Linked DNA regions of Homo sapiens: regions 1, 3 and 4 are each linked to region 2. The links are contacts of gene promoters, found by promoter capture Hi-C in blood cells and fetal thymus (Javierre and others, 2016). All regions are on one chromosome and are shown on one strand. The core of a region is centred on a gene start or on the middle of the fragment in contact, and the rest is flanking DNA. Distances in the headings are between cores, read along the strand shown.

Evidence for each region. The method cuts DNA at HindIII sites, captures the fragments that hold promoters and counts their contacts. A CHiCAGO score of 5 or more calls a contact.
Region 1: a fragment that was not itself captured here is called in contact with the fragment with the promoter of TMEM131L in region 2 in 1 of 17 cell types (activated CD4 T cells); the score reaches 6.1 in activated CD4 T cells.
Region 3: a fragment that was not itself captured here is called in contact with the fragment with the promoter of TMEM131L in region 2 in 1 of 17 cell types (activated CD4 T cells); the score reaches 5.8 in activated CD4 T cells.
Region 4: a contact is called between a fragment that was not itself captured here and the fragment with the promoter of TMEM131L in region 2, in 4 of 17 cell types (activated CD4 T cells, total CD4 T cells, erythroblasts and 1 more). The highest score is 10.9, in activated CD4 T cells.

The regions. Positions count from the first base shown.
Region 1 is chr4:153,247,377-153,250,745 of GRCh38, reverse strand. The region is part of intron 1 of TRIM2 (tripartite motif containing 2); the gene reads right to left. It overlaps LOC105377496 (a long non-coding RNA gene), which reads left to right and starts at 2,207. Exons shown (of 3, transcript XR_939360.4): 1 at 2,207-2,326. RefSeq lists an enhancer at 1,015-1,064. The HindIII fragment of the contact is 5,663 bases long and covers 1-3,369 here.
Region 2 is chr4:153,464,599-153,467,632 of GRCh38, reverse strand. TMEM131L (transmembrane 131 like) reads right to left here and starts at 1,273. Exons shown (of 35, transcript NM_001131007.2): 1 at 1,112-1,273; 2 at 352-422. The coding sequence starts at 1,235. RefSeq lists enhancers at 13-102, 1-262, 1,633-1,812 and silencers at 573-932, 1,303-1,402, 1,443-1,592. The HindIII fragment of the contact is 8,794 bases long and covers 1-3,034 here.
Region 3 is chr4:153,221,703-153,224,813 of GRCh38, reverse strand. The region is part of intron 1 of TRIM2 (tripartite motif containing 2); the gene reads right to left. Among named protein-coding and RNA genes, the nearest start is that of TRIM2, 19 kb to the right of the region's middle. RefSeq lists a silencer at 1,701-1,890 and enhancers at 2,281-2,610, 2,406-2,907. The HindIII fragment of the contact is 3,484 bases long and covers 1-3,111 here.
Region 4 is chr4:153,593,172-153,596,602 of GRCh38, reverse strand. TMEM131L (transmembrane 131 like) reads right to left here. Exons shown (of 35, transcript NM_001131007.2): 19 at 2,732-2,804; 20 at 218-345. Among named protein-coding and RNA genes, the nearest start is that of TLR2, 89 kb to the left of the region's middle. The HindIII fragment of the contact is 2,123 bases long and covers 625-2,747 here.

The DNA.
Region 1 (3,369 bases), core at 196-2,695, 220 kb after region 2:
GAGCTGCCCCAAACTGAAGACATATCCAGGTGGGATCTGCCCAGCACAGAGCAGAGCAAGACCATCACTTTGCTTGCTCCAGGCTCTATCCTTCTATTAATTACCTCTGAGGTCCTGGCACTTTTCTCATATTGACTCATATTGGACATAAATTCATGCCCAGCAACCCTATCCAAGGAGGAATTTTGGTTGGTCTGGTATCATTTATTCTTATGGAACTCAGGATGCTTTTTTTTCTAGGTACTAACAAACCATCCCATTAATATTCCTTCTCTAGCATTACTCTTGATAGGGAGTTCTGTAGTTTTGTAGAAAAGACTGAAGTAGGCCTGGTGTGGTGGCTCACGCCTGTAATCCCAGCACTTTTGGAGGCCAAGGTGGGCAGATCCCTTGAGATCAGGCGCTCGAGACCAGCCTGGTCAACATGGCAAAACCCCGTCACTACTAAAAATACATAAATTAGCCAGGCATGGTGGCGCGTGCCTGTAGTCCCAGCTACTTGGGAGGCTGAGGCAGGAGAATCACTTGAACCCAAGAAGCTGAGGTTGTAGTAAGCTGAGATGGGGCCTCTGTACTCCAGTCTGGGTGACAGAGTGAGGCCCTGTCTTTAAAAAAGAAAAGAAAAGAAAAAAAAAAAGACAAGCAAAACACAAGGCTCTGCCATGCACTGATTATTAAATGCCCAAGTAATAACATGTCTACTCCTTCATTATTCTTTGTCCTGCTCTGACTGTAACAAAAAGCAAAAGCACGCAAACACAAAGCTCTTTTGTTTCGCCCATTGCTTGGCCTCGAGAATTCAAAGTTGACTCTATCTATCTTGAGTATACCCGGAATGTAATCTCCCGGTGCTAACTATGGGTTCCTGATTGCATCCGTGTCCACATCGATGTGCACATCGGTATCAAGTATTGTTTTTCTCTTAAGCAGAGCTCCATTACCACACTTCTCATTTTAACAATTAAATTCAAGGCGGTGTCAAGTTCCTGCTTGCCTCACCAGTTTACCTTGTTTAATTAATGCAGTGGTTTTGACTACAGGGCTGGGATTTAAGAGTTCGGGAGTCTCCGTGGGCGACTGAGCTGGTGGAGGCTGAACAGAGGCCCCCAGGGCCGGGGCGGGAGCAGGGAGGTGGCCGAGGCGGGAGCAGGGAGGTGGCCGAGGCGGACGCGCTGCTAATAATGCCTGCCTCTTCCACACATGCTTTCCTCTCGGTCCCAGATAGTGGATTACTTTTAGACCAACATGTAATTCAGAGAGAACCTCGCAAATGTTCCTCTCTACTGACCAAATCACCCGACCTCTACGATTCCATCCTGCGGTCATAACCACCGACCTGGGGAAATCTCAGACAGCCCCGGCCACGCATGCCAGGCGGAGCCCTAGGGGCTTTCACCCCGCAGGCTCTGCCGGGGCCCGGGCTCCATAGCAACAGGCCCCGCCCCGAGGCGGGAGCCGAGCTGCGCTCAGGCGGAAGAAAAGAAGGCGGGTCCCCTCCACCCAGATGGCGATTGCGCGCCGGTATTCCGAACCTCTGTCTTTCCCCCACCCCCTCTAGGTTTCCTTTTCTAACCTTTTTGTCTCACCAGGAAATAGAACCACTTTGTAAAAGAACTGATTCAAGTGGTGGCGATGTGGGGAAGAGGAGGGAGTAAGGCCCGCGGTGACAGCATTAAAAGCTGGGAGCCCTGGGGATCGCCCCCGCCTGGCCCTCCAGCAACAGGAGTTCTCCCGACTGTGGCCTTTTCCCGTGTCCGGGGTCCACAGCTCTTTGCCTGCTAACCCTGGAGGGTTCTAAGCCGATGCGCCCATGCTGGGGGTGGGACTTTCTCCGAGTAACATGCTTGGGTTTCCATGCTTTGAAACCTGGAGGTGACACTGAAGTAGGAGCCTGGGCACCTTGGCAGAGGGAGCTAATCAGAGGACAGGGGAATCTGACACCATCCTCAGAAGGCTGCCCCTCCAACATGTTACCAGAAGAGTATTTTCCTAAGCAACCTGCCTGGCACTACAACTCAGGGTCACTTTCATCCACGATTAGAATCCTATGATGAAAGTCAGAATGCATCTGCGATTAAGGCACGGGCTCTGGAGACATATCTGGATTTGCTTTATCTGCAGGTTGCTCCTTGCCTGTCTGTTAGCTCGTTTGTAAAATGCTACCTCCTAATGCCATTGTGATGATTAAATGATCCAGTGTGTCACTGTCAGCCCCATGCCTAACACACAGTAAGTCTCAGGTGCGGTAGTGGAGAAGAGGATGGGCTCTAGAGCCAAGAATGGGTTTGGATCCTGGCTCTGCCACTTACAAGTTGTATAACCCTGGGTAAGTAATTTAACCTGTATTCCTCAATTACCTCAAGTGTACGGGGGATGACAAGGGTACTGACTACATAGCGTTGTTAGGAGAAGGAAATGGTTTGTTTAGTCTATGTAAAGAACCTGATCTAGGCCGGGTGCGGTGGCTCACGCCTGTAATCTCAGCACTTTGGGAGGCTGAGACAGGTGGATCACCTGAGCTCAGGAGTTCAAGACTAGCCTGGCCAACATGGTGAAACCCTGTCTCTATTAAAAGTATAAAAATTAGCCGGGCATGGTGGCAGGCGCCTGTAATCCCAGCTATTCAGGAGGCTGAAGCACAAGAATCGCTTGAATCCCAGAGGCGGACGCGCCAGTGAGCAGAGACTGTGTCACCGCACTCCAGCCTGGGGGACAGAGCGAGACTCCATCTCAAAAAAAAAAAAAAAAAACACATGATCCAATGCCTGATGCATCATAAGCAGTCAGAACATAAATTATTACTATCATTATTATGGCCACTACTAGATTTATGAGTTCCTTTAGAAATGACTGATAATTCACTTTTTTTACTCCTGGAGCTGGGCTCATTTAAGGATTCAGTAAGCATTTGTGGGGTTTTTTTGGGCATATGAATAGTTTAATAAAACACTACACTTCATCACCTTTTCATAAGCCAAATAAAATACATCAATAAATGATAGCGAGCAGAATCATGCAAAATCAGAAGAGATATGCCTATACAGTTTTTTTTTTTTTTTTTTTTTTTTGAGACAGAGTCTCACTCTGTTTCCCAGGCTGGAGTGTGGTGGCGCTATCTCAGCTCACAGCAACCTCAGCCTCCTGGGTGCAAGCAATTCTCCTGCCTCAGCCTCCTGAGTAGCTGGGATTACAGGCATGTGCCACCATGTCCAGCTAATTTTTTTGTATTTTTAGTAGAGACGGGGTTTTGGCATGTTGGCCAGGCTGATCTCAAACTCCTGACCTTAAATGATCTGCCTGCCTCGGCCTCCCGAAGTGCTGGGACTACAGGCGTGAGTGACCGCGCCTGGTGCCTAAACACTTTTATCA
Region 2 (3,034 bases), core at 24-2,523:
CCTCAACCTCTTAGCCACTTGCCATCCACACAGCACCAGCTCACTTAGGGAACAGTGTGCACCCAGGACACCCACGGCCGAACAGACCGCTGGCCGCTTCCCTGCTGAGGTGGCCTGGGTTCCCACCTTCTGAACTTGGGGCCGGCCTGCCTCAGGCCCTGTCACATGGCGTGGGAGGAGCCGGGAAGGCCACCGTTGCCAGGTGTTCAGGCTCGGCCCCTAACGTTTATTTGCCTTGCAAAGTGGCCCGAACGCCTGTGCCGCTTGGACAGGGGGTGGGGAGGACCGGGGGCCTCCCCGCCTCTCCTCCCTCGTACACCCACAGCCGCCCTGTCACCTGGTCGTCCTCACCTGAGTGGGCAGCAGGAGTTCCCCTTCTTCTGCCTGCCACAGCTCCACCACGTTCGGCAACGGCTCAATCGCTGCAGGAACACCAAAAAATACACCACGTTTTTAATGCACGCTAAAGAAACGCTTCCTGTTTCCCCTACCGTCCCTCCGTGCCCCCCGCCTCACCAAAACACGTCTCTTTTTCCTCCTGGGAACAGAGGCCATCCCAGGGGCGAGCCAAGGATAAAAATACAATGGGTGGGGTGTGAGCCGGCGGCCCCTCGGACGCGAAGGCGACAGCGTGCAGGCAGGCTCGGGGTGCTCGTGCTGGGGGTGGGGGGACGAAGTGGGAGTGAAGACACCCCACGAGGCACTCCGGGCTCCGCAGCCCGAGCATCTGGAGTGTGGACCCTGGGCGGCCAGGCTCGGGGGAACAAAGCTGCAGGAAGCCGGGCCGCTGCGGGGCACCCGCGCGCGCCACACAAAGCGGGGGCTGCGCCCGGGGCGCAGGGGCCCGCGCACAAAGGCTCCAGGGCGCGAGCGGCTAGCGGTCCCCAAGCCCCGCGACTGCCCCGCTCTCCAGCTGTACGGGGCAGAGAGGCGCGGGACGGGACGCTGTGGTCAGAAAATGTTATCAGCGGAGAATCGCAACAGCTTTCCTTCCTCCTCCTGCCCCTTTCCCTTTCCTCCCCTCGCCCTCTTATAGATTTCAGCAGTTCCCTAAAAGAAAGAGCGGGGGCGGGGTGGAGAGGCAGAGCGAGCCCAGCGGCGCAAGGCTGACCTTGTCCCTGAGCCCCTCCCGGGCGACAGCAGGGCAGCAGGACCTGGAAGACGCCCAGCAGGAGGTTCACGGCCGCCGCGGTGCGGCAGTAGCAGCCGGGCTGCGGGCGTCGGAGCCCCGCCATGCTGCTGCTCGCGCTCCTCTCCGTTGCTCGCCGCGCTCGCCGCTAGCTCGCTGGCGCCCCAGCTGCCTCGCCCCGGGCCCGCCCCCGTGCCGCCCCGCCCCGCCCCGCCCCGCCCCGCCCCGCCCCGCGCCGCACCACCCCCGCCGCTGCCGCAGCTGCTGCAGCTCCAGACCCGGGCGCGCCGCTTGCTCTGAGCGCGTGTGCGCCGCAGATAGGGAGGGACGGAACGCGGCGGGGTGCGGGGGAAAGTGGACAATGCGAACCCGCGGGTGCCCCGCCCCGGCGCGGAGCACATGGCCGCGGGCCCGCCCCGCAGCGCGCACTCTGCGGGGCCCGGGCGCTTTCCTCGGCTGGGACGGGGTCGCTTAGAGCTGTCCGCGGGGACTAGCGGCCCACTTTTGCCAAGTGCATTTTCATGAACTTTTGGGTGGTTGCCGCTTTGTCGAGGCGCTTGGGCCACGGTCGAGAGATTACCCTCGAGGGAAGAGGTGGCGGTGGAGGTGGGAACGAGGAGTCGCCAAGCGAGAGGCCTTGGACACAGGATATTAGTGGAAATAATGCAGTGGTTGTCAGGAAACGCGAGTGCAGCCACATGGCCACTGCCAGTTATGCAGCGAGGATATCCGGTGGCTGCAAAGTCTGTAATTTAGAATAAAAAGAGCTCTCCCAAAACCCGAGAGGCAGACCTCAGCGCCGCGTGGCGGTAGTGCGCCCGGCACCCTCTGTGGACACTGTCCAGGTCCTGACAGGTGGGGAAGACTCTTCCTAGGGGATTTATAGCTTCAAAGACCCTGCAAATACTCCCTTTTGGAATCATATTGCAAAATTCAGCCAGCCTCTCCTGAAATATGGTTGGGGTCGAGGATGTGGTTAGTTGCCTGTTTCTAACATTAGTAGGATAATGGAAGTAATACGTGGAAATACATTTCCTAGTTCCAGGTTTTGATGCCTATAACTAACAAGTCCAAAATCTGGCATCTCTTTAAGTTAACATCCTGCCTTTACCAGCGATGTCGCAAACAAGGGCTTATTCAGAAATCAATTTGCATAACCTAGAAGTATGGGCAATCTTATGATTTTTTAAAGTTAACTTACTGCTTCCACTGTAGCTTGTATGAAATTCAGAGAATATGAACAATATAGTATGAAGAGGGGAAGTGATGGGACACACCTGTTTACCTTAATCCTCTGTTTAATTGCTCCTTGTGCCTTACAAGCCAGACTATAGAAAACCAGTGCTTGCATAGCAGACACAATCCTGAGAAGGACAAAATGAAATCTAGATCCTCTTTCCTAAAGACGTAATACAGTACTGTGAACACAGTCTCACACACTGTCTGCATTTAACTCCAAACAAGGTTAAATAGTCTAATTGCTTGGCCAGACTTAACATTTAAGTAGATTAGCATAAACGTAAGTTGTTGATGTGAAAAAAAAAAAGGGACACTTTGCATTTTCCAACTTGAATACCTCCAGTAGTCTCTGTTTCATACTTTTTTCTGTATTCCTTGCCAACATCTTCCTTTATTTAGCAAGGATCTCCAGTGCCATCTCAATGTGCCCTTTTTTTCTCTTCACTTCTCCAAGTTTCTATTTGCCCCTTGGATTCTGAAGGTCCCCCACGCAGTTAAAGGGACCTCCAGTGACAGGAATATTTGCACAGCCCACTTAAGCAGTAACTGCACCTTCAAAGTTTGCTTCTAAATGAAAGTTCTCTCATGGGCCTATTTATTTACAGAATGTAATTTTAAGTCCTCATATGAGTATAATACGTATAAAGGAAAGCAAGCAAACATTAA
Region 3 (3,111 bases), core at 192-2,691, 240 kb after region 2:
TTGTATTTAAATTTGAAGTAGAAATCAGGAAGCTGTGCAAGTCAGCATTAAAATGATGATGCAAGAAAAATATTCAAGATGTGAGTGTGATGCTTATTTTTGACAGATACAATGGAATTTCTAGTGGAGGATTTAATCGACATAGAATTTTCCAGGAAAATAAAGGCAGGAATTGGAAAAATGTTCTCAGGGAATACTGATAAGAGACAGTCATCTAAACAAACCTTGTCAGTGATGGTATCCTAGATTCCATGATCCAAAGTAGAGTTATGGTGGGTAGCTAAATGGGATTATACAGAAAAGGATAGAAAGAAAAGGGAGGCTGCCAGGAAAAGAATGAGTTAAAAGAATGAGTTAATGAGGGCAAATGGGATGTGGTGTTCTGTACCTAGCCCAGAACAGGCCAGATTACCTCACCTAGAAGACTTTTCATTAGTGTAGATGGCCCTGCCCAACTCAGCCCTAAGGGAATCCATATTTACCCTAAGGGAGAAGGGAGGTGGAGTTCATTTTAATTGATCCTTCATTGTTATATGAACCTAAGTTGGAAAGGGAAGGAAATGCAATGTGTATCACAAAGAATTTAATCAAGTACTTTCTATCTCTAGTTAAGGGTGAGGTAGTCAAAGCCTTCTGACTCACCCCTGCTCTTTTGTTTCTTGGAGCTGAAGGGCAGGTACCAGTTCTGCCAAAGATGAAATCAAGTGGAAATTTGAGAGGAAAGGTCACGTGGAGCTGGGAAGCAGTGGACCCAGCACAATACCTCCTCCCACCCCCTGGGAAAGGAACCCTCAATACAAGTTGTCAGGCAACAACTCTTAACTACATTCTAAAAATATTGATGTAAAATTTAATCTCCATTTTTAGAAGAAAACAATGAAAAAAGGCATAGATGTGCATACTGCTGCAAGAACAACCCCTCACACCCTAAGGGGCTAGCCTAATCTTTGGATGGCTGGAATTCTAAGTGCTCTAAAATTAACTCTTTAAAAGTCTTTGAATCTAAAGCTGTCTCTGTTCCATAAATTAAAGCTGGTGATTTCCCGGGAAAGCAAAGGGGCCTGGTGGAAGGCATCAGTTGCTCCATGGGGTTGGATTACAGGTCGGAACGAATTTGGGGTTCACAGAATGCTTTGGATCTGACAGGCATTTAGTGAGACGAACCGTCCTCCACACTCCCAGCTTTTTATCTACTTTGTCAGCGGCATGCAGCTTTCAACACCGGGCAAGTATTTTCAGAATACATACACCAACCAGAAAGAGCCCTGCAAACCCTCAAAAGTCACCATCTCCCTGCTCTAATAAGCCCGAACTGTAGTACGAGCTGGGGCAAAGAATAAAAGAGGAGGCTAAAGGAAGGAAAGTAGTTTTAGGAAAATGACCAAACATGTTTTTAAAGAAAAAGAGGAAGCCGATCTTTTCAAAATTACTACAGTCCTGCTTTCAGATTGCTCAGTATCTTTTTTTCTCTGCAAAATGACTTTGAAAGCTATCCTGCATGACGCGGGTGACTGAGGACGGCAGAGGTCCGCGACTCCCGGGAGAGCTCCGCGGGCAGGGCCTGGGAGCCGCGCGGCGTCCAGGTTCTGCTGCTCAGCGGCCCTGTTGCTGACAGCTCTGCGCCGCGCCGACCCACTGCACCCGCTCCAGGCCGGCTGCCAGCCCCGCAGCGCCCGTCCGGAAATGGACTCTGGGCAGGCTTCCCGCACGCTCCGGCCACCGGACCTTGCCCGGGCGGGAGGGTTCCCAGGGCACAGCCCGAGCCACGACTTACTACGAGACGGCGACTCGCTTCGCGGGAACAGCGCGCGCTCCGGAGTGGCCTGGGCCTCACCCCTCGGGCCTGGGCCTCGCTGCGCGCCCAGCCAGGGCCGAGGTGCCCTAGCTCACGACATCAGGCAGCGGGCAGGCGACCCAGGACTTCGCACCCGCTCCTCTCCGCCTCCTCCTTCCTCCCCCGCAGCCGCCCTTCTGCAGCCTCAGGCGATCTGAAGGTGAAACTGCTTTATCTAAGGCCGTTTTCTGAGCGAGCGGCTCAAGTAGTAAAAACAGACCAGAGGAGGAAAGTCGGCCTCCTGGCTGGACTCTGAATGGCTTTCACCGGGTGTCCTCGGCTCCAAATGGCTCTCTGGTCGGTCATTTCCATTCTGTGCTCAGGCCCAGAGCAGTAAGACATCTGTTTTCCATCAACCGCGAGGCAGAGGCAAATCCTGGATTAGATGTCGCCCGGCGCTCGCAGCATTTTCAGGCCCGGCACGACAGCTAATCCCCGCACAAAGAGCATGAAAACAAACACGCAAGTTGGTGCCCGGTTCCAGAAAGATTTCCCTGTGCGATGACTAAAGGCTCCTGCAGCCAGCCTCCAAGATGGGCCAATCGCAGCACAGCGGGGCAGGAAAAGGGGGTTGGCTCGGTTTTCAGGTCTCCTGAAAACGCATCCTCTTCCCCAGTCCCGTAAACACAAATGCAAACACTGTCCTTTCAGGGGAAGTGAGTTCAGCTTGACGGGGCTGAGAGAGCTGAAACGGGCCGGCCTCCATCATGACAGTTCATTATAAGCAAGCACAGCTCCTGAATGTGAGCGAAGAAAAAAAATCTCTGCGTTTCCTTCAAGTGAATGTTAACAAATGAGTCAAGTATGATACAATCAGTCCTGCAAATGATAAGTCATGACTGTCTCTTTAGGCCTTTTTACTCCGTAAAAGAAGTTGGAGTAGGGACCCTTCCTCTCTCTCTCTTTCTTTCCTTCCTTCCTTCCTCCCTCCCTTCCTCGCTCTTTCCTTCCTTCCTTGCTCTTTCCTTCCTTCTTTCCTTCCTTCCTCTCTCCCTTCCTTCCTTCCTCCCTTCCTCCCTCTTTCCTTCCTTCCTCACTCTTTCGTTCCTTTTCTCCCTCTCCCTCCCTCCCTTCCTTCCTCCCTCCTTCCTTCCTTCCTCCTTCCCTTCCTTCCTCTCTCTCTTCTTTCCTCGCGCTTTCCTTCCTTCCTTCATTTCCTCCCTCCCTCCCTTCCTTCCTCGCTCTTTCCTTCCTTTTCTTCTTTCCTTCCTTCCTTATTTCCTCCCTCCCTCCCTTCCTCACTCTTTCCTTCCTTCTTTTCTTCTTTCCTTCCTTCC
Region 4 (3,431 bases), core at 437-2,936, 130 kb before region 2:
GCACACTCCCTATTGGAGAAGAGAGGAGACTGAGGCCTTGGGGATTACTTGTCAAGCCTCCAGTGACCTCTTTCTCAGCTTCCACTTCTTCCTACCCCGCAACACAGCCTTCATCCTGAAGGTCTGACTGAGAAGTGAACGTCAACTATCAGCTAAAGAGATTTACACAGATGAGTCATTGAGAAAGAAACAGATTCTACAACAGGAACACACCTACCGGATTAGTATGAGTGAGGTAACTTTTCCATAGTCAGCAGGTGTGAAAACTACGCCAACCCTTTTCATTTCCAAAGGCTGCAGATGTAAGTGGAGGATGCCAAACCTGGATTCCTCAGAATGCGTACCCTGCAAATTAACAAATTAAACCATGTCATACTCCTAGAAAGCAAGCTTCCATTGTCATTAAGTGCATCCTAGAGTTTAAACACGATTGCTTCTCTTTTAATGTCCAGATTTGATCCTCCTAATCAACCTGTTAGAACTTGCTTATCCTGAGAGTTCACTCCAATAAACAGCTTCTGAGCCATAGCTAAGAAATATAGGCAGAGACTACAAGACAACCTCACACAGATGCTGGAGAGGGGATTTGCTTCCTGGTTTGAATGGAAGTTGGGGCTAGAAGCTTTCTACACAAAGATGCTTTGAATGTACAACATCAATCAGAAAACAGACCCAACAGCCTCTGCTTGAATGCTAGAGCAATCTGACAAGACCACTCACCCACCACTGGACAACCCAAAGATCTCTTTATATAAATTCTTTATACTGAATTTAAGTTTATATAGAAATCATCTTTATTATATTTAGTATCTCCAGTCAGAAGAAAGATCTTTATTTATTCACATCTTCCTCTATTTTCTCCAAGATGTCGTGTTTTTTTTTTTTTTTGGCATAAAACTTGTGCTCTAAGTTTAGTATCCAAGGTTTAATTCTTTTTATCTTTTTGGTAAGTGGACTTTCCCTCTTTCCACTGCTTTTTCTAGCTCCATCTCACTAAAAACAATGCAATGTATCACTTCTTAGAGCTAATATATAATCCTGAAGAATATTATTTCTCTTTGTTTTTAACTTTTAATTTTATGTTTCAGTTATTGCTAGTGTTACCCATGCCATCTGAAAAAGAGAATAGTAATAGTATTTGATTATTTGATTCATTTTTATTAGAATTATAAACTCCATGAAGGAAGAAACCCTGCTTTACGCAGGTAATATGAATACTGAATTTAAAAGCTGCTGACTTTTGGTGTTAAACTTATAGTAAAAACAGCACCTCTATTAAATGGTTCTTATATGCCAGGCACTGACATTTTTAGGGTATATAAAAAACTCCAATGTTCTTAACCCAAGGAACTATATTTCTAAAAGCAAATCAGCAAAATCAAAATGCAGGAAGCCTTTCTTTACATGATGAAGAATTCTAATAACAATTCTGAGTTAAATTTTAACTCAGTGTTTTCAAGGCACTGATATTAACTATTCTTTTCATCAATGTAATAAATTAACAATAGTAATAATTTCTCTTATCCCAAAATATATAATATTTCTTGGGAAAAACAGTCATAGATAAAAACTTCTTCCAAATGAGTTACATCATTTGTTCACATCTAAATAGAATATTTAGATTTAAAATAAACGGGCATTATTTTTGGAATTTCAAGCTATACATGATTCAATACCAGTGAGGCAAGATATCACTTAGTATTTTGGACTAATTATCCTGAATAGCCTTGAAGACCTCCTGGTGGAGAAAATGAGAAGGAGAGAGAGGGGCAGACTCGCTAACAAGAATAAAACCACACCTGGGTGCACGGCTTCACCACTCCCCCCAACTCGCCCAGTGCTGCCTCAACACTTAAGAAAAGAAAGGAGAGTCTGTGGTAATGGGTTATCTGTGGTCTCCCTCCTTCTGTTATTGAAAGTAATCTAGAGCCAACAGTATATTTTTGGAGGGATAAAGATAAAGAAAGAAGAAAATACCCAAGGCGCTTAAATATAGTGTAGTAAAAATAGAGTTATCCGCATATGTGAGTTTACATGTGTATGTATGTATTTTTTGTCAACAGATGCTCCACTTTTGAATTGATCTCAAACACAGAATACCTGTAAGGCCAACACTCAGCTGTATATAAATAGCCACGGAATGACTGAGTGGAAACTGAGAAGTAAGGCTGCCAAGTCCCCAGGCAAATAGCATCTTCACCACATGACATGTTTACTCCTACTCCTAAGTATTTGGGCAAGACCTCATGACTGCCCACAGGCTTAAGAATTTTAGAGTAGTCCTTTTTTATAGATAAGGTAAACATCACAGAAATTGGGTGACTTGCTAAAAACAGGAACACAGTTTAGTAAGAGAAGATTTTTTTTAATGTATTTGTTTTTCCTTATCTTGCCCTAAAAAAGAATTTGAGGGCCAAGGAATCTTAAGAGAATTATAAATTCTGGGGTCTCAAGTTTCATGGTTTTCTACAAAGCTCTGTTCAACTGTTATTTCTTTACTCACATGATTCTAAATAATCAAATTAAAATGATTTAGAGCTAACATAAACCCAGCTCCTACCGCACTAGTTAACTGGAAAAATCTGCTATGTATCGTTAATGCCCAGAGAATCAAAATAAAAGAGCCATATATAGTAAATAAAAGACATTTTAAACATAAATCAATGAGGCCCGTATGCTCATGTGTCTAGTTTGTCGGCATTCTTTTTTCTGTTTTAGGATAACATCCTACCAGGTAAGGGCAAGCTTCGGTGAGCTGGAATTCACCAGTTGTGAAATTAATCATCTGCATATCAGTGCCAAACCTATAAGGAAAAAAGCAAATGTTTAAAACAGCACTCACATCTGCCAGTAAAGAAAGATTTAATAAGTGTGTGCACATATATACATTTATACATAGGTGAGTACATTTGCACACACATACACACAAAATTCATCCCATCCTGTCCACCCGACATTCCACCCCACATTCCCACCCAGCTCCACCCCACATTCCCACACCCATATCTGCCATATTGTCAATGATCAATAAATATTGCTAAATGAATGACTTTGGCATCACAGGATGTAAGGAAGCATATGGTGACAGAAGCTCTAAATATAAAGCAACTTTTTTGAAAAAAAAAGTGACTCTCAACCAAAGGCAATTTTATCCCACGGGAAACACTGGGCTACGTCTGGAGACATTTTTGGTTGTCACAGCTGGGGAGTTCCTACTGGCATCTAGTGGGAGAAGCCAGGAATGCTGCTAAACATCCTTCAACACACAAGATGGCTCCTCCCACCCCCACCAAACAGAATGGTAGAACCATCTGGTCCAAAATACCAATACTGCGAAAGCTGAGAAACCCTGGGATAAGGGTCGATCTTACTAAACGAGAAGCTGGAAACATTCTAAGTAAAACTGTGATTGTGTGAAAATAAGATATAAC